4 separate regions of the Homo sapiens genome follow, and all the other regions are linked to region 1. The links are contacts of gene promoters, found by promoter capture Hi-C in blood cells and fetal thymus (Javierre and others, 2016). All regions are on one chromosome and are shown on one strand. Each heading gives the region's core, a stretch centred on a gene start or on the middle of the fragment in contact. The rest is flanking DNA. Distances are from core to core; before and after follow the strand shown.

Region 1 (2,859 bases), core at 248-2,747:
ATCCTTGCTGTGTGACCTCCAGCCAGTTACTCCCCCTCTCTGGGCCCGCAGGCTTTTATGTGCAGAATGAAGGGGCCTCCAGCCGCAGTGGTTCATGCCTGTAATCCCAGCACTTTGCGAGGCAGAGGCAGGCAGATCATCTGAGGTCAGGAGTTCGAGACCAGCCTGGCCAATGAAACCCTGTATCTACTAAAAATACAAAAATTAGCTAGGCAAGGTGGCATGTACCTGTAGTCCCAGCTACTCGGGAGGCTGAGGCAGGAGAATCGCTTGAACCCGGGAGGCGGAGGCTGCAGTAAGCCGAGATTGCGCCATTGCACTCCAGCCTGGACAACAGAGCGAGACTCCATCTCAAAAAGAAAAAAACAAAAAAAAATGACGGGGCCTCTAATGCTGTCTCCATTTCAGACCTATATGAGGTGCTTGACTTAGTGTGAGTGTTTTAGATTTAGCCACTTCACATATTTAAAAAGTCCTTTTCATAATATTTCTCACCTTCAGATCCTGCAACCATTTCTTATGCTATTCATTCTAGCCAAAGCCATTTCCAAAGCATCTATAAGCTTACATTTTCAGATGCACTCCACTCCAATCAAGAGAAAAACTCGGCAGTGGAACGGAAATCAAAGTTCCTCTCAATTTCAGAGCCGGTTGGATTCCGGTGGATAGTGGAGAGTGAATCGTAACCTATTTCACACTCTTGCTCCCTACACAACATTCTGTTGCTCTGAATGCATTACTTTGCTCACAGGGAATGGCCAGAGGAGGATGAGGAGCCTGCAGAGAGAAGAGTATTTTGAAATCTGGGGAGCCCTTTGCAAGCTTCCTCATTTTCCCAGTGCAAAAACCAAGACCCAGCGAGCGGAAGTAACTTGTCCAAGGTCACACAGCAAATCCGAATCCAACCCAGCACTCTGTCCCCCAGCCTGGGGCTCCTTCCAGAACCTGAAAACTGCCCTTTCTGCATTCACTGAATAAACCCAATTTTGCCATCTACGGCTCTCCAAACAGCTGGCAAACAGCTCCTTCTGGAGCACGGGAAAGGAATTCACTCAAACCAGCACTTTTGCCAAGGATGTCTAACAGCGTCAACTTCCCCCTGGCCCCCGCCCACCCTACAGCAAGCAGTAACTCTTCCCCTCCAGTTTAACTCACCTTCTTGTCTCAGGGAGCCAGTTTCCAGCTGTTTCTCTGCCAGGCAAGGGGAGCCCATCTCTTGGTGCCCAGGGAAGGGACAGGTTTCTGGTGGAGATGAAGGGGAAGAAAAAAATCCCCAAAACAGCAGTTTCTAGCAGAGTCAGTTTCCAATCTTTCTTCCCGTGCCTCCTCCAGAAACCAGAAGTTCATTCATTCTGCATCTCTCTCTCCAGCAGCTGCAGGAGAGCCCTGGGGGATTGAGGTGGGATTTTTTTTTTTTTTTAAAGGACCCAGAAGTCCCTTTCCTTATGAGAGATGAGGGTCTGGGGGTTCTTGCTGGGAGGGAGCCAGGGCAGCTGTCCTGGTTGAGCAGCGGACTCTGCACTTCAAGTCCCACGGGGACAGCCAGTGTGGGGGGGTGTGGAATGGGAAGGGCTTAGAAATAATCTCTCCATCAGCCAGCAGCAGGAAGAAGCAGCAGCCGCTGCCACTCTGCCAACCGCCTAGGAGGCAAGGGGAGCTGTCCTCCCTCCTCTGGCATGGAGGAGCACAACTCGGGAGGAGCAGAGGGCAACTTGGGGCCGGAGGCATCTGCAGCTACCTGTCCCAGGCACCCCAGAGTCTCTCGGGGTATGCTGATGATGGTGACAGGCTCAAGTTGAAGCTGCAGGAGGAACTTTTTGCTGCTTTTAAGCAGCCCAGGCCTGGGACAGGTTCAGACAGAAGCCCAGGCTCTGAGCGCTGGGTGGGAGTCAGGGGGGCTGTGTTACAGAACAGCAATAGGAAGAGCTCCGAGCTTGGAATTCACACACATGCCTGGATCCTGGCTCCTATGTGAAAGGCTGGGTGACCTTGGCCAGGTGAGTTAGTGCTTCTGAGCCTCAATTGTCTTGTCTCTAAAACATGGGAATGAGAGAGGGTTCAGGGAAGGTCAGAACCATAAGTGCAAGCTCCTGTGCTGGTTGGATGGTTGGGTGGGTGAAAAGGAAGAGGCATCAGTCCAGGGCCTGGGTGTGAACTTGGACTCTGCACTGCCTGGCTGTGTGTTCTTGGTCAGTCACTTCCCCTCTCTGGGCCTTGGGTTTCTCAGTCAAATGAGGACAGTGAAACCAGCGATGGCTGCAATTGTAAAACCAGCATCTTGTAGTTGCTCACTACACGTTGACTGTTCTTCACTTTCTTAAGAGGTTTTGCAGCCCAGGCTCTTGGCTTCTGAATGTGTTATCTTCACTGCATTTGATAGTTGAGGCCCTGAGAAGAGGCTTGCTCAAGGTCATCTTGCTGGTTAGAACCATCACTTAGGCCGGGTGTGGTGGCTCACAGCTGTCATCCCAGAACTTTGGAGGCGGAGGCGGGCAGATCACAAGGTCAGGAGTTTGAGACCAGCCTGGCCAACGTACTGAAACCCTGTCTCTACTAAAAATACAAAAATTAGCTGGGCATGGTGGCGGGTGCCTGTAATCCCAGCTACTCGGGAGGCTGAGGCAGGAGAATTGCTTGAATCCGGGAGGCGGAGGTTGCAGTGAGCTGAGGTCGCGCCACTACACTCCAGCCTGGGTGACAAAGTGAGACTCTGTCTCAAAAAAAAAAAAAAAAAAAAAGAACCATCACTTAACAGACGCTTGAGTTTTGATGGGAGGATCCAGGAGTGAGGGAGATTAGAGGGTGAGCCTTCCACAGCTGCCTGCAAGGGGATGACAGGTGCTGCTGACCTAGGTGGGC
Region 2 (2,859 bases), core at 114-2,613, 250 kb after region 1:
CTGTGGCTTGACTTCTCCCACGCCCCATAGACCCGGCACCGTGTAATAACTGGGCCCGTGTCCTCGCCTGAAAACTGGGGGTCACACGGCCTGTCCTGAAGAACTCTGATGTGATAAACACCATAGAGCAGCATCACATTTTCCTATCGCCCCGACTGCGTCTAGAGAAACACTTGGAGAAGATGGGAGAGCCCTATTTAGCACCCCCACCCTCTCCCTTTCTCCAGAGCTCTTTGCCCGTGCTGTGCCACTCGTCAAGGTTCAGGACACCAAGTCTTACCTTGAAACTGAGGCTTCACCTCCCAAGAGCAAGAGGCAAACCCACCGAACACATGCTTGTCATGGTCCTCGAGGACAGCCACACAGGGTCCCCGGTGAGTGATGTGGCCACAGAGCTGGGAGAAGCTGTGTCCATGGAGCTCAGACGAAAAGAGCAGGCACCAGCGGTGCCGCTGCTCCCGAGGCAGCTGGGCGTTGATGTACATGACAGAGAGGACATCCAGGATGCTCTCAAAACCCCTGCCCTGGTCCACTTGACGCTCAGGGACCAGGGTAGTCAGATCAAGAGACGAGCACAGGATGAGAAAGCCCTTGCAAATGACCACACTCAGGAATATGGCCACATGGGGGACCCTGAACACCCAGTCCTCGATCACAGCTCGGTCACAGTCATAGTCCAGCCACTGGGGCCCCAGAAGTCTCTTGCCATCTAGGGGAAGGGGATGGTCAGCATTAGTGGGGCTGTTATGTCACCATTTAGCTACTATCTAAACCCACACTGATCAGTGTGGGAGCCACGAGTCACATGCAATTACTGAGCACAGAAAACAGGGCTCGTGTGAATTGAGAGGTGCCGTCAGTGTAAAAGGCACACTTGATTTCAAAGATTTGGTATGAAAAAAGAATGTAAAATATCTCAATTTTTAAATATTCATTACATTTCAAAATTGTATTTAGGACATATTATTAGAATCAGTTTTCCCCTGTTTCTCTTTACTCTTTTAACATGGTCCCTAGAAAAGGGAAAATTTCACATGGGGCTTGCTTTGTCTATTGGCCAGCACTGATCTAAACAATCCGACTTCAACACTTTTCTCTCCTCTCCAAGCAGCATTTCAGAACCCCTCGAGATGGCAGTGCCCTGGCAATGGGGCTGGAATAAATGCCTGAGCTACACCTGGAGCCGCTCATCCAAGGGCGTCGGTCCTGCCAAGGTCACTGGAAGGGGAATGTTCCCAGCCAGTCAAGGGGCTGGTAGGGCACTTCCTGGGACTCCTGCAGTTTATCTGGGAAGTGCGGGTTTCATTCGCCACTAATCAGGCTTAATCATACAGCACTTGGAGCCCTATTTTCCATCCCTCACCCACTAAGAGTGGAGGTGACAGTAAGAGCGTGGGAGCACACACCTGGGACTCGAACAGCTGGCTTCAAACCCGAGCTCAGGAACAGCATGACCTTGCCAAGGTCTGGACCTCTGTGCCTCAGTTTCCTCAGGTATAAAATGGAGGTAAGGCCAGAACCTGCCCCGCTCGGTTATTACAAGGAACAGAGGAGCTTTTACGTCTTAAGCTCTTGCTGACACAAAGGCCCCATTTACAGAGATTATAATTCCCAACCTAGCGAAAATTTGACTAAGCTGAAATATTTTGTGTAACTCAGGCCCATTTTATTAAGCAGGAAATGTAAAAGTACTCCCAACTTCTGATAATTCAAAATTCCTATCATTTCTATTTATTTTTCAAACAGTTTCATTTCTCATTACCTATATATTACTTGAAATCTTAAGGATAATTTTAATCGTCTGAATTACCTTTTCTACTTCACTGAAAACTTTAATTTTTATTTTCATGATTCTTCTTTTAAAACATACTGATTCTAGATGGATGAACAGTTTACCCATAAGACGAATTACTGATACTTACTTGTAAAATTCTTTCCAAGTTCCAAATACCTCATCTAAACTAACTTCTGAAATATAACCTATTTTCAAGCTGTACTTTAAAATCTGGCTTTAAAACAAAAGGGCAACATATTTATAAAGTAAGTCTGCTTTGCAAAGTGATTTGCCACAAGGTTTTTTTTTTTAATCCCAATTAAATTTAAATATATACTGCTTCTCACCCAACAACAGAATACACATTCTTCTCAAATGTGCTTTAAACATTATCCAGAAGTGACCATACTATAGGCCATAAATGATGCATCAACAAATTTTAAAGGATTCAAATAATACAAAGTATCTTCTCTAAACATAATGAAATATAATCAAAAATCAGTACTAAAAGGCAATTTGAGGAATTCACAGGCATGGAGAAATTAAATAACACACTGTTACATAGCCAGTAGGCCAAATGAAAAAATCCTAAGGGACATTAGAAAATATTGAGATCAATGAAAATAAAAACATAACCTATCAAAACTTATGGCATGCAGCGAAGGCAGTGCTGAAAGGGAAATGTGCAAGTGTAAATGCTTATTTGAAAAAGAAGATCTCGAATCAATAACCTAGTATTCTATCTTAAGAAACTAGGAAAAGAAGACCAAACAAATTTAAAGCAAACAGAAGGAAGAAAATAAAAGCTAGAGGAAAATAAATAGAAACTAGAAAGACAACAGAAAATTAATGAAACTAAAAGCTGGTTCTTCAAAAAGTACCGACAAAAATGTGAAAACCCTTTAGCTAGACTAAGAGGAAAAAGGGACAAGAGACAAATTATTTAAATCAGTAATGGAAGTGGGGACATCCCTATTGCTTTTGGGAAAATAAGGATTATTTTAAAATATGCCAACAAACTAGAAAACCTAGAAGAAGGTTCGAGGGCTCACGCATTCTGGTTTCAAAGCTTTACTACACAGCTA
Region 3 (2,859 bases), core at 131-2,630, 200 kb after region 1:
GAGGTTGCAGTGAGCTGAGGTCATGCCACTGCACTCCACCCTGGGTAATAGAATGAGACTCCATCTCGAATGAATGAATGAATGAAACAAAAATATGCAAAACTAGTAATAATAAAAAAGAAAAGAAAAGAAATGGGCAGAGAAGTAATGCGAGTGTCCAGGCTCACCAGGCCGGGAAGGAAGAGCGCTGGGAATCCCACTCTTTTTGCTTGTCTCTTTTTCATTTTTTAAATATTTATGTATAAATTGAGGTAGAAGTCATCTACCATGAATTCACCCCGTTAAAGTGCACAATTCAGTGGTTTCAATTTGTTCACAAGTTGTGCAAACTTCACCACTGTCTAGAATACTTTGTCACCCCAAGTGGAAATGCCATCATCCCCATTATCGGTCGCTCCCCGTTACCCCACACTCGTCACCACCCGTGCACCTGCCTCCCTGCTGGGTTCCCTCATGATAACTTTATGGGAACCAACATTCAGCACAGCCAAGAAATAGTCACGATGTTTCTTTTAAAAAGCCGGGACGCTGAGTTGTTTTAAAGAGCAAGTCTTGTCCCCACAACCCCAGCTGTAAAAATGGGACAGGCCCACAATGTCTAACTTTTTCATGAGCCCAGTACTAACTACAGATGTCCGGACAATCCCCTTTTAGGCGGGCTGTGTTGCCAACAATGCGGTCATCAGAAAGAACGCCGTGATGGGGCAGCCCACCGAGGGTGCATTGATGGCCCTGGCGATGAAGGTAGGAGGTCCTGGGGTGGCTCTGCGGGGAATTCTTTCGCTCGGGGCTGGATTCATTGGTAGAAAGCCAGCTCCTGTCTGAGCTAACAGGAGTGGGGACGTTAGGTAATCATGGAAGAAAATGGCCCACACTGGCCTTGGGCCATCTGTTGGTGGTGGAGGAGGTGAGCTCTGAGATTCCACGGGACTTCAGCAAGTTCTGCAGGTCTCTAATCCCTCCACCAGCGATTCCAAAAGAATCCTATGAGCTTCCCTGTGGTTCAGGCCCTGGTCAGGTGTTGAGGCGACAGACAGTGGAACGAGACTCCCTATGCACCCAACACGACCCTGTGCTCACCGAGGCACCACTGGGAGGGGCTGGTTCCTGGGAATGTATTCGATTGACTCCGGGGTTCAGTGTTAGACCCTGAGCTCTGTGGCTGTGCAGGGTTGCCCCAGGCCATTCTGTACCCAGCACCAGGTACCAAGTGGCTGCTTGCAGTGTGGAGGGGATGGGTGGGAGCTGATGGGGGCCTGCTGCATTCTGTGCTCAGAGGACAAGTTAGAAGAAGGAGAGGCAGAAAACATGGGCTGGGAATGCAGGTGACAGGAAAGCAAGGAGAAGAGAGGACAAAGGACATGGGAAAGGAGGGGCCGGCAGAGGTTAAGAGGAGGGAGCAAAGGAAGGAAGAAGGTGGCCCCGGTCAGCTCCCACGTCTGTTTCCATGGCCACTTGGCCTGGGTCCCTCCTCTTCAGCCAGAGCTGGGGCTCCCCTGGACACTGTGGGAGCTCCTTTCCCCGACCCGCTCCGTGCTTTCTGCTGTGTGACTTGTCTCTGACTCGGGTGTGATCAGAACCCTCTCCATCAAGGTCAAGGGAAAAGCCCGACTCAGGGTGCTCATCCCCCAGCACGGACCCCTCGCTGCCGCCGAGCCTGGCCCCTGCACTCACCCTCCCTTCCTGCTTCCTCCTGGACTTTGACCACTCCTGCCTGTTCTCACTGGCGAGTGCCGACTTTCTCTTCAAGTTCACTCCAGTTTCCACCCCAGCAGACACCTCTCCTCATCCCGGGCTCACTTCACTGCCTTGTATTTTCAGCTTACCTGTCCCATCACTGAGCACCAGGGCTCACTTCACTGCCTTCTGTTATCAGCTTACCTGTCCCTCCCTCCAGTGCAAGACTCCAACCTCCCACACCACTGCCTTCCCAAAGCTGGTGCTGGGCGGGGGAGAGGTGGTCGCCCTCTCATAAGCCCCCGTGTTGGTAGATCAGGTGCTTTTCCCCAGTGTAAGAACATTGGAAAGTCATTACAGGCTGAGTGCAGTGGCTCAAATCCCAGCACTTTAAGAGGCTAAGGCGGGAGGATCATTTGAGGCCAAGAGTTTGAGACCAGCCTGGGCAACATAGCGAAAACCCATCTCTACAAAAAATATAAAAATTAGCTGGGCATGGTGGTGCATGCCTGTGGTCCCAGCTACTCAGGAGGCTGAGGCAGGAGGATCCCTTGAGCCCAGGAGTCTGAGGCTGCAATGAGCTATGATCACACCACTGCACTCCAGTCTAGATGAGAGAGATCCTGCCTCAAAAAAAAAAAAAAAAAAAAAACAAAAAGATTGGGCACAGTGGCTCACACCTGTAATCGCAACACTTTGGGAGACCGAGGCAGGTGGATCACCTGAGGTCAGGAGTTCAAGACCAGCCTGGCCAACATGGTGAAACCTCATCTCTACTAAAAATATAAAAATTAGCTGGGCATGGTGGTGCACACCTGTAATCCCAGCTACTCGGGAGGCTGAGGCAGGAGAATTGCTTGAACCCAGGAGGCGGAGGTTACAGTGAGCCGAGATCGTACCATTGCACTCCAGCCTGGGTGACAGAGCAAGACTCCGTCTCAAAAAAACAAACAGAAATCATGACATCGTATTATTTTTCTTCCATTCACAGAAGAGAATTCTCTCTGCAATGTCTGTAATAGTGAATGGAGCTCATTTCCCGTTTTAAAATAGTGCTGAGTCTGCCCCATTCAACAACTCCTCGCCGCCCAGAAGGGAAGGTGCCGGCCTGACCGCCTGGCAGGAATGACACCCATGTGTCACCTTGCTTCCGCCACCAGCCGTCCCTGCAGCCTAGAGAGG
Region 4 (2,859 bases), core at 184-2,683, 170 kb after region 1:
AGATGATCTGCCTGCCTCAGCCTCCTAAAGTAGTGGGATTACAGGTGTGAGCCACCGTGCCCGGCCGACAAACTAAATTCTTAATGTTATTTAATTTTAATTTTTATTTAAATATGCACATGGACCTAGTGGCTACCATATTGGGCAGCTCAGCTTAGAACATCTGCGGGGGCCCTTCTAGGAACAGCTGCCATTGGTGGAGGAAGCTGACAGGCCCAGGAGGGAAAACAGCTTTTTCCTTTTTCTTTTCTTTCTTTCCTTTCTTTTCTTTTCTTTCTTTTCTTTCTTTCCTTTCTCTTCTTTCTTTTCCTTTCTTCCTTTCTTTCTTTTTCTTTTTGTTGTTGTTGTTGTTGAGACAGGGTCTGGCTCTGTTGCCTAGGCTAGAGTGCAGTGGCAGGATCTCGGCTCACTGCAACCTGTGCCTGCCTCCAGGGCTCAAGTGATCCTCCTGCCTTACTTTCCCAAGTAGCTGGGAATACAGGTGCATGCCATGCCACCACACCTGACTACTTTTTTGTATCAGCTGCTACAAAAGTTACTGCATTTTTTGCATTTTTATTTTTTAAACCTGATTGTGTATGTGTGTGTATGTATGTGTGTACGTGTGTGCACGTATGTGTGTGTGTGAGCATGTCTGCACGTGTGTGTGCGTGTGTGTCTGTATGCGTGTGTCTGCGTGCGTGTGTGCATGTGTGTGTGCGTGTGTGTATATGTGTCTGTGTGTGTCTGTGCATGTGTCTGTGTATGTGTGTGCGTGTGTGTATGCATGTGTGTGTCTGTGTCTCCGTGTGTGTGTCTGTGCATGTGTATGTGTGCATGTGTGTATATGTGTCTGTGTGTGTCTGTGTGTGCATGTGTCTGTGTGTGTATGCGTGTGTGTGTGTGTGTGTGTGTATGTGTGTGTGTGGAGATGGGGTTTCACTATGTTGCTCAGTCTGGGAAAACAGCTCATTCTAAGCTTAACTTTTAGCATAGCAGTGGTCCATAAGCTCGTTCTCCTAGTAGAAAATGAAATGATTTCAAAAAAGGCCAAAGTCTTCTCCCCACCCCTGCTAACATTGGTTGAGGTCCTGTCAGGCTGATCTGTCTTTCCCGAACATACCTGGCTGCTCAAAGTGATAGAAGGTATCCTGTGATCAGCCGGGCGCGGTGGCTCACACCTGTAATCCCAGCACTTTGGGAGGCCGAGGTAGGCAGCTCACCTGAGGTCAGGAGTTCAAGACCAGCCTGGCCAACATGGTGAAACTCTGTCTCTACTAAAAATTAAAAAAAAATTAGCTGGGCATGGTGGTGGGTGTCTGTAATCCCAGCTACTTGGGAGGCTGAGGCAGGAGAATTGCCTGAACCCAGAGATGGAGGTTGCAGTGAGCCAAGAGTGCTCCATTGTACTCCAGCCTGTGCGATAAGAGCGAAACTCTGTCTCAAAAAAAAAAAAAAAAAGTATCTCATGGTCTGGGGTGTCTGGGAACAACTCAGCCCACCCTCTGAGTCTCCAAGACCCATTTCCAACATTTGGCAAACATACGGCAACTCCGTATTTTCTGAAGGATAATTTTCAGGGAGAGCTTTAGTATATATCCCAGGCACATGTTGTGCAACTGAGCCATGGGGCTAGGGTAGAAAGCCGTAGTGAGATACGGTCCCGCGTCTCAAAGAGTCAGCATTCAAGGGGCGTGTGTGTATAATACAAGGCGGAGAATGACGAAGGACCAAATAGGGACAAGAAGAGGATGATACAGAATTGACCCACATCACAGAGGGTGAGTCAATTGTAGAAGGGCCGCGGGAGCAGTAGAAATGTCTGGGCTCGCTGGTCGGATGAACAGTGCTGTCAGAAATCCAGACATGTGACATCATTAACTGAGCAAACGGAAGCATAAATGATTTATGTGATTTGATGATCCGATCTTAAGCTTAAATATCGAGTCTTGGCCTTTCAGGTGAATAGCGTGCATTATTGATGTCTCCCGGGAGGTCACTTCTAAAAGACGGTTTTATGTACAAAAGCAGCGGTGTCGGGCAGCCCAGTAGAGTTGAAAGAGCGCTGAAGAGGTGAAGCCCACCCTTTGAGTCTCTGAGACCCATTTCCAACTCAGGGGAAACCCTGCTGTGCGGGACCCCCTCCCTGTGTTACTCCATCCCTGGTGCAGGCATCAAATATTTATTGAGCACCTACTGTATGCCTGGAGAAAGGGCACTGAGGTTATACAAGTGGAAGAAATGGGGAGGCCTCGGCCTTTGGGGACCTCACATTCCTACCAAGGGAGTACATAATAAGCCAGTGAAGAACAAGATGACCTTGGAATTGTCCAGGTACACAAAAGCCAAAAAATACTGGAGGCCACCAAAACAAATAAAAAACCCCACTGAGATGTAATAGTGACTGGTAGAAGGGTGAGGACAACCCTAAATAGCTGTCGATCAGGCTGACATTTAGAGAGGAGGTGACATTTAAGCTGAGGCCTGAGGAAGAGGAGCCTGCCATGGGAGGAGCTGAGGGAGCAACAGGTATATCTCTGGCAGGTGCTCTTGGCTACAAGGAACAGAAAGTCCAGTTGCACAAACGCCAAGAAAAGTATATTGTCTCATAGCCAGGGATCTGAGGTGGGAGCCGTGGGGTTAGTTAATTCAGGAGAGCACCCAGGGCGTGGTTCTTTCACCTCCTTACCCTGCCACCTTGTGCCCACTGGGGTTGCATTGGTTCTTGGCTGGCTCTCCTCATGATCCCAGATGGCTGCCACAGCTCCTTGCATCACAGCCAAACACGCAAAGGCCCTATAGAAGAAGGGTGTGTGTGTGTGCGTGCACGCGCGTGTACAGTAAGGAAATCTTTTCCCACAAGCCCCCAGCAAACATCCA

What was found. Contacts are between HindIII fragments. The CHiCAGO score rates a contact against its expected background, and 5 or more counts as called.
Region 2: a fragment that was not itself captured here is called in contact with the fragment with the promoter of KCNG4 in region 1 in 3 of 17 cell types (M2 macrophages, M1 macrophages and megakaryocytes); the score reaches 7.6 in M2 macrophages.
Region 3: a contact is called between a fragment that was not itself captured here and the fragment with the promoter of KCNG4 in region 1, in 3 of 17 cell types (M2 macrophages, megakaryocytes and M1 macrophages). The highest score is 6.5, in M2 macrophages.
Region 4: a fragment that was not itself captured here is called in contact with the fragment with the promoter of KCNG4 in region 1 in 2 of 17 cell types (M2 macrophages and M1 macrophages); the score reaches 5.8 in M2 macrophages.

Annotation. Positions count from the first base shown.
Region 1 is chr16:84,238,515-84,241,373 of GRCh38, forward strand. KCNG4 (potassium voltage-gated channel modifier subfamily G member 4) reads right to left here and starts at 1,498. Exons shown (of 3, transcript NM_172347.3): 1 at 1,156-1,498. The HindIII fragment of the contact is 3,746 bases long and covers 821-2,859 here.
Region 2 is chr16:84,486,351-84,489,209 of GRCh38, forward strand. It overlaps MEAK7 (MTOR associated protein MEAK7), which reads right to left. Exons shown (of 8, transcript NM_020947.4): 5 at 281-709. Among named protein-coding and RNA genes, the nearest start is that of MEAK7, 17 kb to the right of the region's middle. The HindIII fragment of the contact is 2,956 bases long and covers 1-2,841 here.
Region 3 is chr16:84,441,856-84,444,714 of GRCh38, forward strand. ATP2C2 (ATPase secretory pathway Ca2+ transporting 2) reads left to right here. Exons shown (of 27, transcript NM_014861.4): 15 at 655-744. Among named protein-coding and RNA genes, the nearest start is that of ATP2C2-AS1, 24 kb to the right of the region's middle. The HindIII fragment of the contact is 8,325 bases long and covers 1-2,859 here.
Region 4 is chr16:84,411,676-84,414,534 of GRCh38, forward strand. All of the region lies in intron 6 of ATP2C2 (ATPase secretory pathway Ca2+ transporting 2), which reads left to right. Among named protein-coding and RNA genes, the nearest start is that of ATP2C2, 45 kb to the left of the region's middle. The HindIII fragment of the contact is 955 bases long and covers 957-1,911 here.